Linked DNA regions of Homo sapiens: region 2 is linked to region 1. Evidence: promoter capture Hi-C in 16 types of primary human blood cells and fetal thymus (Javierre and others, 2016). All regions are on one chromosome and are shown on one strand. The core of a region is centred on a gene start or on the middle of the fragment in contact, and the rest is flanking DNA. Distances in the headings are between cores, read along the strand shown.

What was found. Contacts are between HindIII fragments. The CHiCAGO score rates a contact against its expected background, and 5 or more counts as called.
Region 2: a fragment that was not itself captured here is called in contact with the fragment with the promoter of RNF135 in region 1 in 1 of 17 cell types (endothelial precursors); the score reaches 5.5 in endothelial precursors.

The regions. Positions count from the first base shown.
Region 1 is chr17:30,966,681-30,972,718 of GRCh38, reverse strand. It overlaps RNF135 (ring finger protein 135), which reads right to left and starts at 1,680. Exons shown (of 5, transcript NM_032322.4): 1 at 1,274-1,680. The coding sequence starts at 1,645. RefSeq lists enhancers at 865-1,114, 1,143-1,704, 1,805-2,054, 1,705-2,266, 2,335-2,394 and 1 more and a silencer at 1,185-1,724. The HindIII fragment of the contact is 12,676 bases long and covers 1,065-6,038 here.
Region 2 is chr17:31,379,457-31,385,494 of GRCh38, reverse strand. No RefSeq gene overlaps it. Among named protein-coding and RNA genes, the nearest start is that of RAB11FIP4, 9.2 kb to the left of the region's middle. The HindIII fragment of the contact is 689 bases long and covers 2,509-3,197 here.

The DNA.
Region 1 (6,038 bases), core at 431-2,930:
CTGACACATGCTACAACATGAATGAACTTTGAAAACACTATGCTAAGTGAAAGAAACCAGGCACAAAGGGACAAACATTGAACGATTCCAGTTATATGAAATATCTAGAACAGGCAAACTCAGATACAGAAAGTAGCTTAGATGTGAGCAGGGGCTAGAGGGAGGAGAAATGAGGAGTTACTGCTTAATGAGTACAAAGTTTCTGTTTATGATGATGAAACAGTTTTGGAAACAGAAGTGATAGTTGCACAACAGGAAATGTAACTAATTTGTCACTGAATTGTACACTTAAAAATGGTTAAAATAGGCGGGGCGCGGTGGCTCACACCTGTAATCCCAGCACTTTAGGAAGCCGAGGCGGGCAGATCACGAGGTCAGAAGATCGAGACCATCCTGGCTAACAACGGTGAAACCCCGTCCCTATTTTTTAAAAAAAGAAAAAAACATACAAAAAATTAGCCAGGCGTGGTGGCGGGCGCCTGTAGTCCCAGTTACTCGGGAGGCTGAGGCAGGAGAATGGCGTGAACCCGGGAGGCGGAGCTTGCAGTGAGACAAGATGGCGCCACTGCACTCCAGCCTGGGCCACAAAGCAAAACTCCGTCTCAAAAAAATAAAAGGTTAAAATGAGGCCAGGCGCTGTGGCTCATGACTGTAATCCCAGCACTTTGGGAGGCCGAGGCGGACGGATCATCTGTGGTCAAGAGTTTGAGACTAGCCTGGCTAACATGTCGAAACCCCGTCTCTACTAAAAATACCAAAATTAGCCGGGCGTGATGGCGCACGCCTGTAATCCCAGCTACTCTCGAGCCTGAAGCAAGAGAATCACTCGACCCTGGGGGGCGGAGGTTGCAGTGAGCCGAGATCACGCACGCCATTGCACTCCATCCAGCCTGGGCGACAGAGCGAGACTCCGTCTCAAAGAAATAAAGAAAAAGGTTAAAATGGCCAGTTTTAATGTTATATAGATCTTACCACAATTTTACAAGTTTCAGAGAAAGAGACCGAAGATCGATTGGGAAGAAGTTGAAATATGCCAAGCTGTGTAACAGCTAAGTTGACAAGCTTTCGGAAGATGGGGAATTTGTTTTTTTCTACTTCTTCATACTTTTATGAACTTTCCAAAGTGCCTCCGAAGAGCGGAACTCGACTTTTAGACTGAGAAAAGGAACGTAAAAGTAGAACGGCTGAGGAAAGGGGTTCGAGCCACATGGGAAAGGGTCAGGCGGCGGGCAGCCCGGGGGAGCCAGGGGAGCTGCGGGCCCGGCCTCCCTACCCGCTGCAGTTCCGGGCGGCGCCGGGGCCTCGCGGCCGCGCTGGAGAGGGAACTGGAGCCCGGGCAGGGGCAGTGGGCAGGGTCGGAGCCCGCCTGTATCTCGCGTGCGGCGCGGCGGTACTTGTCGGCCAGGTCCTGCAGTAGCGTGTTCTTCCGCAGGTGCGGCTGCTGCGCGGCGCCCTGGCGGCAAGTGGGGCAGGCCCAGCGGCGGGCGTCGCGGGCGCCCCACAGGGCCTCCAGGCAGTGGCGGCAGAAGCTGTGGCCGCAGGGCAGCGTGGCGGGCCAGTCCAGCAGCCCCTGGCAGATGATGCAGCCGAGGTCGTCCTCGGCCAGCCACACGGGAACGGCGGAGCCCAGGCCCAGGCCCGCCATGGCCAACAGGCGGCCGGGGCGCGGACGTCGGGGTTGAGCCGGGCGAGTCTCCTCAGGCTCCTCCCTCGCCCTTCCTCTTCCCCTTGCCCTCCTCCTTTTCTCGGCCGCCTTTTCTCCTCCTTCCTTGGCGCCACCCCGTCTCCTTCCTCCGATCCTGCTGAAAACAGACTTAGAGCCTCCAGTGCCCAGCTGGAAAGACAGAGCTGACCTTCAGTGGCGGCCTCTTGCCCTGGGAAACCAACATGCCGCGAGCTGCTAGAAACCCGCGGAGGTCTCCAAGATTCCCTTTAGCTGGATGTCCCTCCATTAAGATGCAGCACCGTTGGATGTCTTCGTCCGTTGGCTTAAAAAAAAATAAACAACAAAAAAGATGCAACACCGACAACTCTTGGGAGGAGAGGACTCCATTCAGCAGCTTATTTATGAGAATGAGCCCACGAAGTGTCATCCAGCTCCTCTAACAAGTAGCAGGGGATTAAAGATCACCGATGCACAGCCACAGGGAGCGTCCTCAAAAATGCTGATGTTCGGCCCCGCTCGCAGGGAGTCTGATTTCATTGTCTTGGGTGGAGCACGGGTATTTTGTAAAACCTCCCCCAGGTGATTCTGACGCGCATTCAAGGTTGAGTGAGCGAACCCTTGGCTTTTTAACTCGCAGGTATAATGCAGAGTTGTGCGCTGTGTCCTTACCGCCTTCTGCGGGATGTAAGCGCGTTTCCCAACAGACACTCGGACAAAATTCTAGAAAGTGTTTTCCTGAGAAGGCTCACTCACTCACTCACTTCGCATCCCAGTCCTAAACGCATTGCAACCAGAAAATGTTAGAGCTAAAAGAGCACCACGTCCTCCCAGATGACCCAAAGAGGTTAAAAAAAAAAAAAAGAGAAAAAAGAAAAACTTGCAGGCTCTCATGGTAACAATGAAGCGTCAGAGACTAAAACCCACAACTCCCCAATCTGTTGAAATGAACTAACAACGTCTCATGCTTTACTTTATCCTTTCTGGCCTGGGCTCAAAGTAGGTATCAGATAATACAAGTTTGTAGCCGACCTTTGGATCACTTGAAGTCAGGAGTTCAAGACCAGCCTGGCCAACATGGTGAACCCTCATCTCTACTGAAAATACAAAAAGAAAAGAAAAGAAAAGCCAGGCGCCCTGGCGCATGCCTGTAATCCCAGCTACTTGGGAGGCTGAGGCAGGAGAATCTCTTGAACCCGGGAGGCGGAGGTTTCAGTGAGCCAAGACTGCGCCACTGCACTCCAGCCTGGGCGACATAGGGAGACTCCGTCTCAAAAAAAAAAAAAAAAAAAAAAAGAAAAAAAAGAAAGAAAAGAAAGAAAAAAAAGCGTTTGTGGTTATTTCTAATACTGGAAGTGTCATGGAGTAGGCAGCGCTGCTCATCAACGTTTCCAGTGCTTTCCCTTTCTGGGCACATGGTAGGACTGGCACTTCCCTGACCCACTTGAAACACACAGAGGTAATATGTTACTTCCCACCAGCTTTAAAGGCGACTGAGCCGGCCATTGTATCCCTTTCTGCCAGCTGCCCCAATTATGGAGATGAAACCATCATCCGGTGACCTGGGTCACTGAGTGGCTAAGATGAGCAGACTCCCTGCCAACGCACCCTAGGATACGTAGTAAGAGGGAGAAGAAAACTAGGATGTATTCAGCTTACTGAGATTTAGTGGGTGTGTGCTGCTACAGCATAACCTAGCCTATCCTGACTGATGTATTACCTGGATCTTGTTCTAGAATCTCCGCATCGGAGTAAAATCGTAGTTTCTAAGAGCCTCTTTTTTTCTGTAAAACGGGCATGATACTAAACACTTAAACATGCTCAGATCTTCCAACTTAAAAAATGAAATCACTGGCGGGGCGTGGTGGCTTATGCCTGTAATCTCAGCACTTTGGGAGGCTGAGGCAGGTGGATTGCCTGAACTCAGGAGTTCGAGACCTGCCTGAGCAACATGGTGAAACCTTGCCTCTACAAAAAAAATACAAAAACTACCTAGACATGGTAGCGCAGGCCTGTGATCCCAGCTACTCAGGAGACTGAGGTGGGAGGATTGCTTGAGCCAGGGAGGTGGAGGCTGTAATGAGCCATGAGATCTCAGGAGGTCAAGACTGTGGTTAGCTGTGATCACACCACTTCACTCCAGCCTGGGGAAGGAGCTAGACCTAGTCTCAAAAAAATTAAAAATTAAAAAATAAAATAAAATCACCTTTGACCTGAGCCTCCCTGGAACCAGCTCTCCTCTTCTCCATTTCACAGCCAAGTTTCTGGAAAGAGTGAGTTAACCAGTAGTTTTCAAACTTTTTTCTTGGACACGCCCTAAAAGTTTTATGCAAAATCATGCAGTGGTTATAAGAAAGGGGGAAGTGGGGGCCGGGCGCAGTGGCTCACGCCTGTAATCCCAGCACTTTGGGAGGCTGAGGCGGGCGGATCATGAGGTCAGGAGATTGAGACCATTCTGGCTAACACGGTGAAACCCCGTCTCTACTAAAAAATACAAAAAAAATTAGCCGGGCGTGACGGCGGGAGCCTGTAGTCCCAGCTACTCAGGAGGCTGAGGGAGGAGAATGACCTGAACCCAGGAGGCGGAGCTTGCAGTGAGCTGAGTTCGCACCACTGCACTCCAGCCTGGGCGACAGAGCAAGACTCTGTCTCAAAAGAAAAAAAAAAAAGAAAGAAAGAAAGGGGGAAGGGGGAGAGTGGTCAGCTCTGGTAGTAAAAATATATTAGCAAATTCTTCATTTATATCAGATTTTTTTTTTTTTTGAGATGGAGTCTCACTTTGTTGCCCAGGCTGGAGTGGAGTGGAGTGGCACAATCTCGTCTCACTGCAACCTCCACCTCCCGGGTTCAAACCATTCTCCTGCCTCAGCCTCCGGAGTAGCTGAGATTACAGGCGCTCGCCACCATGCCCGGCTAATTTTGTATTTTTAGTAGAGATGGGGTTTCCCCATGTTGACAGGGTTTCTCCATGTTGGCCAGGCTTGTCTCGAACTCCTGACCTCAGGTGATCCGCCCACCTCATCCTCCCAAGTGCTAGGATTACAGAGGTGAGCCACCGCGCTCAGCCTACATCAGACATTTTGTCATTCTTGGCCGAGTGCGGTGGCTCATGCCTGTAATCCCAGGACTTTGGGAGGCCGAGGCAGGCGGATCATGAGGTCAGGAGTTCGAAAAATACAAAAAAAAATTAGCTGGGCGTAGTTGCAGGCACCTGTAATCCCAGCTACTCAGGAGGCTGAGGCAAGAGAATCATTTGAACCCGGGAGGTGAAGGTTGCCATGAGCCAAGATGGCACCATTGCACTCCAGCCTCGGCAACAGGGCAAGACTCCGTCTCAAAAAAAAAAAAAAAGAAATTTTGTCATTCTTTTATCTTTCTGAACTTGTATTTCCATTCCATTTCCTCCACAGAATTACATTCCAAAGCAATATATTTCATGCATGAAAGTCTTTTATCACTTTGTAATACTTCTCTACAACAAAAGTATGTATGTGTATTAAATTTTTAATTCTTCTTAACTTCCTGTGACAAAAAGGCTCTTGGTAAATTTTTTCCCCTGGATTTAATTATCAATATAATTACTATTAGCAGTCAAACAAAAGAAAAGTATGCTGCAATTTATAACTTTTATATAAATAAAATAACTTTTAAAGACAGTAAACATTTTATTGGAATGATAGCTATTAATAAGACAGATGGGCTCATTTCTTTCAAAAATGCATTTATGCCCAGGCACGGTGGCTCACATCTGTAATCCCAGCACTTTGAGAGGCCAAGGTGAGCGGAACACTTGAGGTCAGGAGTTTGAAACCAGCCTGGCCAACCTGGTGAAACCCTGCCTCTACCAAAAAATACAAAAATTAGCTGGGCATGGTGGCCTGAGGTCCCAGCTACTCCAGAGGCCGAGGCAGGAGAATTGCTTGAACTTAGGAGACGGAGGTTGTAGTGAGCTGAAATGGCACCACTGCACTCCAGTCTGGGCAACAGAGCAAGACTCTGTCAAAAAAAGAAGCATTTATCTATGAATGAACATTACTTAATGATAGACAAACTTTTGCAATAAATTCTATTTCTTTTATGTTTTTATGTGTGCCGAGAAATCTTGTTCACATGTATAAATAGATGACAAAATTGTCACTCATTTTGTTGAATACTTTTTGAGATATATGCAAAAAAGTCATATAGTGATAATCTCTCAATTAACAACTTGATTTGATTTTTCTTTAATTTTTGTTGAAAGCAAGAATTTGAGGTCGGGCGCGGTGGCTCACACCTGTAATCCCAGCACTTTGGGAGGCCGAGGCGTGTGGATCACGAGGTCAAGAGATCAAGACCATCCTGGCAAACACGGTGAAACCGCGTCTCTACTAAAAAT
Region 2 (6,038 bases), core at 1,604-4,103, 410 kb before region 1:
AGGAGCGGGAACAGGTGCCTGGAAGCCAAAAGAGGTGAGGAAAATGACTGAATTATAGTTAAATGTGCACATCCTTCACCATGTATTTCTTTTTTTTTTGAGATGGAGTCTCACTCTCGTTGCCTAGGCTGCAGTGCAATGGCGTGACCTCAGCTCACTGCAACCTCTGCAGTGTTCAAGCGATTCTCCTGCCTCAGCCTCCCGAGTAGCTGGGATTACAAGGTGCCTGTCACCATGCCTGGCTTTTTTTTTTTTTTTTTTTTTTTTTTTTTAGATGGAGTTTCGCTCTTGTTGCCCAGGCGGGAGTGCAATGGTGCGATCTCAGCTCACTGCAACCTCTGTCTCCCAGGTTCAAAGCGATTCTTGTGCCTTAGCCTCCCAAATAGCTGGGATTACAGGCACATGCCACCATCCCTGGCTAATTTTGTACTTTTAGTAGAGACAGGGTTTCTCCGTGTTGGTCAGGCTGGTCCCGAACTCCCGACCTCAGGTGATCCACTCGCCTCGGCCTACCAAAGTGTTGGGATTACAGGCGTGAGCCACCACGCCCGGCTACTAATTTTTTGTATTTGCAGTAGAGATGGGGTTTCACCATGTTGGCCAGGCTGGTCTTGAACTCTTGACCTCAGGTGATCCACCTGCCTCAGCTTCCCAAAATGCTGGGATTACAGGCATAAGCCACAGTGCCTGGCCGCCTACGAGCTTCTTGAGAGCAAGGACCATTCCCCATCAACCTTGTTAACCTTGAAAGGTTGCAAGCTGTTGAGTAGAAGTTATAAAATAACAGTGAAGGTTTAGGGTTGGCCTACGGAGTTGACAGCAGTTCACCTGCACCACTCTAAACTAGTTATGCTGATACTCCCCTAAGGAAGGAAAACAAACCCAGCTCCCTGTAATCCGAATTAGTAAAGAGCTACCTTTTGATAAAAGGAAAAAGATAAAGGTAAAAACATCCAAGAGGTGGTAGTTAATGTAATACCTAAACTCTGCTATCATAAACATCCTTTTTAGTACAACTAAAAGTAAGCATTATCCTCATCTCTTAAAACCCTTTTTGTTTTCAAAGCAATAATCATTGTAAAATGCTTAGAAGATAGACACAAAAAGGAGTAAGTGAGCCATACATATTGTTAACATTCAATACATTTCCTTTTCTTTATCCTATGCAAAAACTATACACATATATTTGTATTTATATAATTGGGAATTAGCCCTCTTATGTGGTTTTAAAACTCTTGATTTTATTGGAAGTTCCCTCCCAAAATTTAAATATTATTAGGCCATTTTTAAAGGCTGCATAAGGAAGTGGTCAGCTTCCAGAAAGTGCTGGATGAATGTAGATAATTTAACCAATATTTTGGTTGTCTTCAGGTTTTCTGATATTATAATACTTTGATGAAAGTCTTCACTCTTTTACCATTTGTTTCTCCAGAATAGATTCCTAGATAATTACTAGGGCGAATGGTATGGACTTTTTTTTTTTTTTTTTTTTTTGAGACGGAGTTTCGCTCTTGTTGCCCAGACTGGAGTGCAATGGCGCAATCTCAGCTCACCACAGCCTCCGCCTCCCGGGTTCAAGTGATTCTTCTGCCTCAGCCTCCTGAGTAGCTGGGATTAACAGGCATGCACCACCACGCCCGGCTAATTTTGTATTTTTAGTAGAGACGGGGGTTTCTCCATGTTGGTCAGGCTGGTCTCAAACTCACGACCTCAGCTGATCCACCTGCCTCAGCCTCCTGAAGTGCTAGGATTACAGGCATAAGCCACCACGCCCAGCCAGTATGGACATTTTTAAGGCTGGTAATACAGAGAGATGAGGCCATCTGCAGGAAGAACTCATCGCACCACATTCTTGACCTGCACCAAGTATTAGTTAAGTGTCTTTGCTAATGTGACAAGTGAAAATATGTATCAGGTATCCCATTGTTTCAGTTTGTATTTCTTTTTGTTTACTAATGAGTGTGATGACCTTTTCCATCATAAACAGGAGTTGGTACAATATTTCTGTGGATTGGCCATTCATGTTCTTTGCCCATTTTTCTTTCTGCTTAGGTTTTTTCTTTAGATGAGTTTTTATGAACTCTTTATAATTCCCTATTGGTTGGCCTTTTAATTTTGTGTGTGATTTTTTTGGACATGGGGACATTTTAATGTTAGGCAGTCAATGCGGGACCCTTAGGATTTCTGCTTTTAAGCTTACACTGCTTTTTTTTTTTTTTTTTGAGACGGAGTCCTGCTCTGTCACCCAGGCTGGAATGCAATGGCACAATCTCAGCTCGCTGCAACCTCCGCCTCCCGGGTTCAAGCAATTCTCCTATCTCAGCCTCCTGAGCAGCTGGGATTACAGGCACATGCCGCCACGCCCGAGAACGTATTGTATTTTGGTAGAGAGGCCCATGTTGCCCAGGCTGGTCTTGAACTCCTGAGCTCAGGCAATCCACCCGCCTCGGCCTCCTGAAGTGCTAGGATTACAGGCGTGAGCCACTGCACTTACACTGCTTTTAAGCTTACAAAGTCCTTCCCTATTGTAGGAGTCATTAATGTTCTTGGCCAATGTTTCCAGCTCTTTCCCTTTTGAACAGAGGAAGATAGTGATTTTTGACCCTTGTGACTTTGTGAAGCTGTGTGTCAAGTTCTGGCAATGACTGTGAAAAGTGACTGTGTATCTGTCCTCAAGCCTTTAATTGCTGATGCAAGAGCTTCCAGATGCTGCTCTGTCCAATCTAGCAGCCAGTAGCCACATGTAACTATTTACATTTATTTAATATAAAAGTTTAGTTTCCCATTCTCACTAACCACATTTCAAGTGTTCAATGGCCACATGTGGCTAGTGGCCACTGTCCTGGACAGTGCAGATATGGAACTGGTAATACAGAAAGATGAGGCCAAGTGCAGGAAGAACTCATTGCACCACATTCTGGACTGGCACCAATATTAGTTAAGTACGTCTTTGCTAATGTGACAAATGAAAATGGGACCCCTCTGTTTCAGCTTCCAGCAGAACATTTCCATCATCACAGCGGCTGGACATTACAGCCTGAGCTCCTTCCCTCTGGCATGATGGCTAGCCATTTGTAGATCAAATGAGTGAGTGATCAGAGATGGCTGATCACTCACTCTGGAGTCCCAAGACATCAGGGTGAGCAGAGCCTCCTGATAACGGGTGATGGACATGTAGCAGAGGTGAGAAATAAGCTTTTGTGGCTTTGAAGCCAATACACTTTGGGAGTTACTCATGCTTGTCTTTTTAAATAAAAAAATCAAAGCATAATCTGGACCTTCTAGCCTGTTCCACTTTATATTTACTCTAATTACCATTAGTATTTAAGCATTTAAAAATTTGTTTTACTACCTAATAAGGAAGTTTTCGACAACCCGTTGTTAGCCATGCTTTCCTGTTTATTCCACAAGGTGAAGAATATTTTCCAAAGATCATTTTGTCTGGATACACTCTCTTCTTGTTGGCATCTTGATCAGAATTGTATTAAGCCAGTTCATTTATTTGGGAAGATCTGGCATTCAACGATATTCAGCTTTCCAACCCAGGACTGTGGTCTGTCTCTCCATTTGCTGGAGTCTCCTTTAAGCCCAGCTTCCTCACATGCCTGCGTGCTGAGCAGTGCTGTGTGGAGAAAAATAAGCAGCAATGAGAGAAAACTGAGGACAACATAGTGACTTTTATAAAGCAAAACTAATTTCTTTTAAAGAACTGTACTTTATCCTGTGATTCCCTCCCCCACTACTCAGAGTTGAAATGGCGTTTTACAAAAAAACTATGTTAGATATATTTTTTTCTTGTTTCTAAATGCATAAGTTGATGAAATGTATTTTGGAAATTTTACTGATCTGTGAAATCTCAAAGTCTGGATTAGAATTTTCAATAGGTCTTTATTACACAGGTCACCTCTATTTTGTTAGGGATTTTGCATTGGGGTTGCTATTGTGTATGGGGATTTTCCCATTCTATTTATATAGTTCTTTATAACATAAAGCCTTCAGTGTTATTCAACAACTATCTATTGAGCACCTTTGAACAAAGCATGTTCCCTACACTGGGAGGCTCATAATCCTAACCAGGGACATAGGAAGATAGTTGATGATTACAAAGTTGTTGTATAGAGAAGCTGTCACAGAAGCAAGAGAAGGGCTCTCAGCCAATGGGAGATCAGAAAGCATTTCCAAGAGGTGCTGGTGCTCAAATTGAGTGACAACAAGGCACCCAGAAAATGTTTTGCTGAATGACTGCTGCACACTCAAAAAGACTTGGTATTTTGATAATGAATTTTTGTCTCCTGTAGAATCCTAGATATGAGTAAGGGTGGTATTTGTGGAGTCTTTTTTAATGAAGGCACAGATCACCTAATTCCTTTCTGCCTTCCATTCACAAATTACCAAATTGCAAAGAAAGTATCTCTTTACCATCAATTTCTTTCTACTTCAACTTTGGGCCAGACTCAAAACATTTATAATTGCCAGGATAGAAAAAGTGTTGCTATTTTTGTGATCTGGGGCTAAGGCATATCTTCACGTATTTTTTGTTTTTATTTTTTCTTGAGACGGAGTTTCGCTCTTGTTGCCCAGGCTGGAGTGCAATGGCGCGATCTCGGCTCACTGCAACCATTGCTTCCTGGTTCAAGCGATTCTCCTGCCTCAGCCTCCCGAGTAGCTGGGATTACAGGCATGTGCCACCATGTCCAGCTAATTTTGTATTTTCAGTAGAGATGGGGTTTCTCCATGTTGGTCAGGCTGGTCTCCAACTCCTGACCTCAGGTAATCTGCCCACCTCGGCCTCCCAAAGTGTTGGGATTACAGGCGTAAGCCACTGCGCCTGGCCCATATACTTTGTAAATGTAGAAAATTAAGCTGCATTCCCCAACGTGGGACAAAAGAATGGAGAAAAATAACACGAGAAGCCAATCTCCTGTGGTGTGCTGCTTTCTGCCTAAACACTTATCTGCTACTTGCCCTCTCTGGGCCAGTCTCCTCTCTCTCTTTTTTTTTTTTTTTTTTGAGATGGAGTCTCGCTCTGTCACCCAGGCTGGAGTGCAGTGGCACGATCTCACTCACTGCAAGCTCCGCCTCCCAGGTTCATGCCATTCTCCTGCCTCAGCCTCCCGTGTAGCTGGGACTACAGGCGCCCACCACAATGCCTGGCTAATTTTTTGTATTTTTAGTAGAGACGGGGTTTCACCGTGTTAGCCAGGATGGTCTCGATCTCCTGACCTCGTGATCCGTCTCTGGGCCAGTCTGTTAACGGACTTGATTACCTTCTGTCCATTAAATACTCCAAAACCCTATTTTCAACTGCTCACTGGACACATTTCAACCTGGACAAACTTCTTGGTCATTCTTTAAGACCCACCTCCTCAGTTGCCAACCATGCCAGTCACTCCATGACCCTCTAAAAACCCCACCCACACCTTGGGACACTGTGGTCATTGTTTGTGTGGCTGTTTTCCCCACTAAGTCATGAGGTCATAGAGGACAAAGGCCAAGCTTTCTTCTTTTGTATTTACAATTATAACCAAAGGAAAAACTTTTTTTGAACAATCAGCTAAGGTTGCATCTGTCAACATTTTCTTCCCTTAAAAATATTAATTTAGGCAATGCTTTCTGAACTTCTGAGCAGGAAAGGGCCCTATTAAGATTCCAATGTGACTGTCTTATTTTATATAGAGGAAGTGGCCAATGGGGCAAGTTCTGAACCTTGTAACCCCAGAAGCATAATGCTCTTGATCACTATTAGCTTGACTGTCAGCATAAAGACATAGTAAAGGACCTAGAATAATTTTGCAATATGACCTTTTTGAGAAAATTTAAAAAGACAAAATAATTTGGCCCAATGTAGGTAAAATGTATCAAGCTGTTTTGGAAACCTGAAATACGCATCCACATATGCATATGTAGTATGTATGTACACACACAGTATAAACCGATTTTTAGAAGACAATTTTTTAAAAAAGCCAAACCAACTGATTAAAATTATAACTCCACATTACTTTATGAAACTTATGATTAGGCAGCACTTCTAAAAGAAC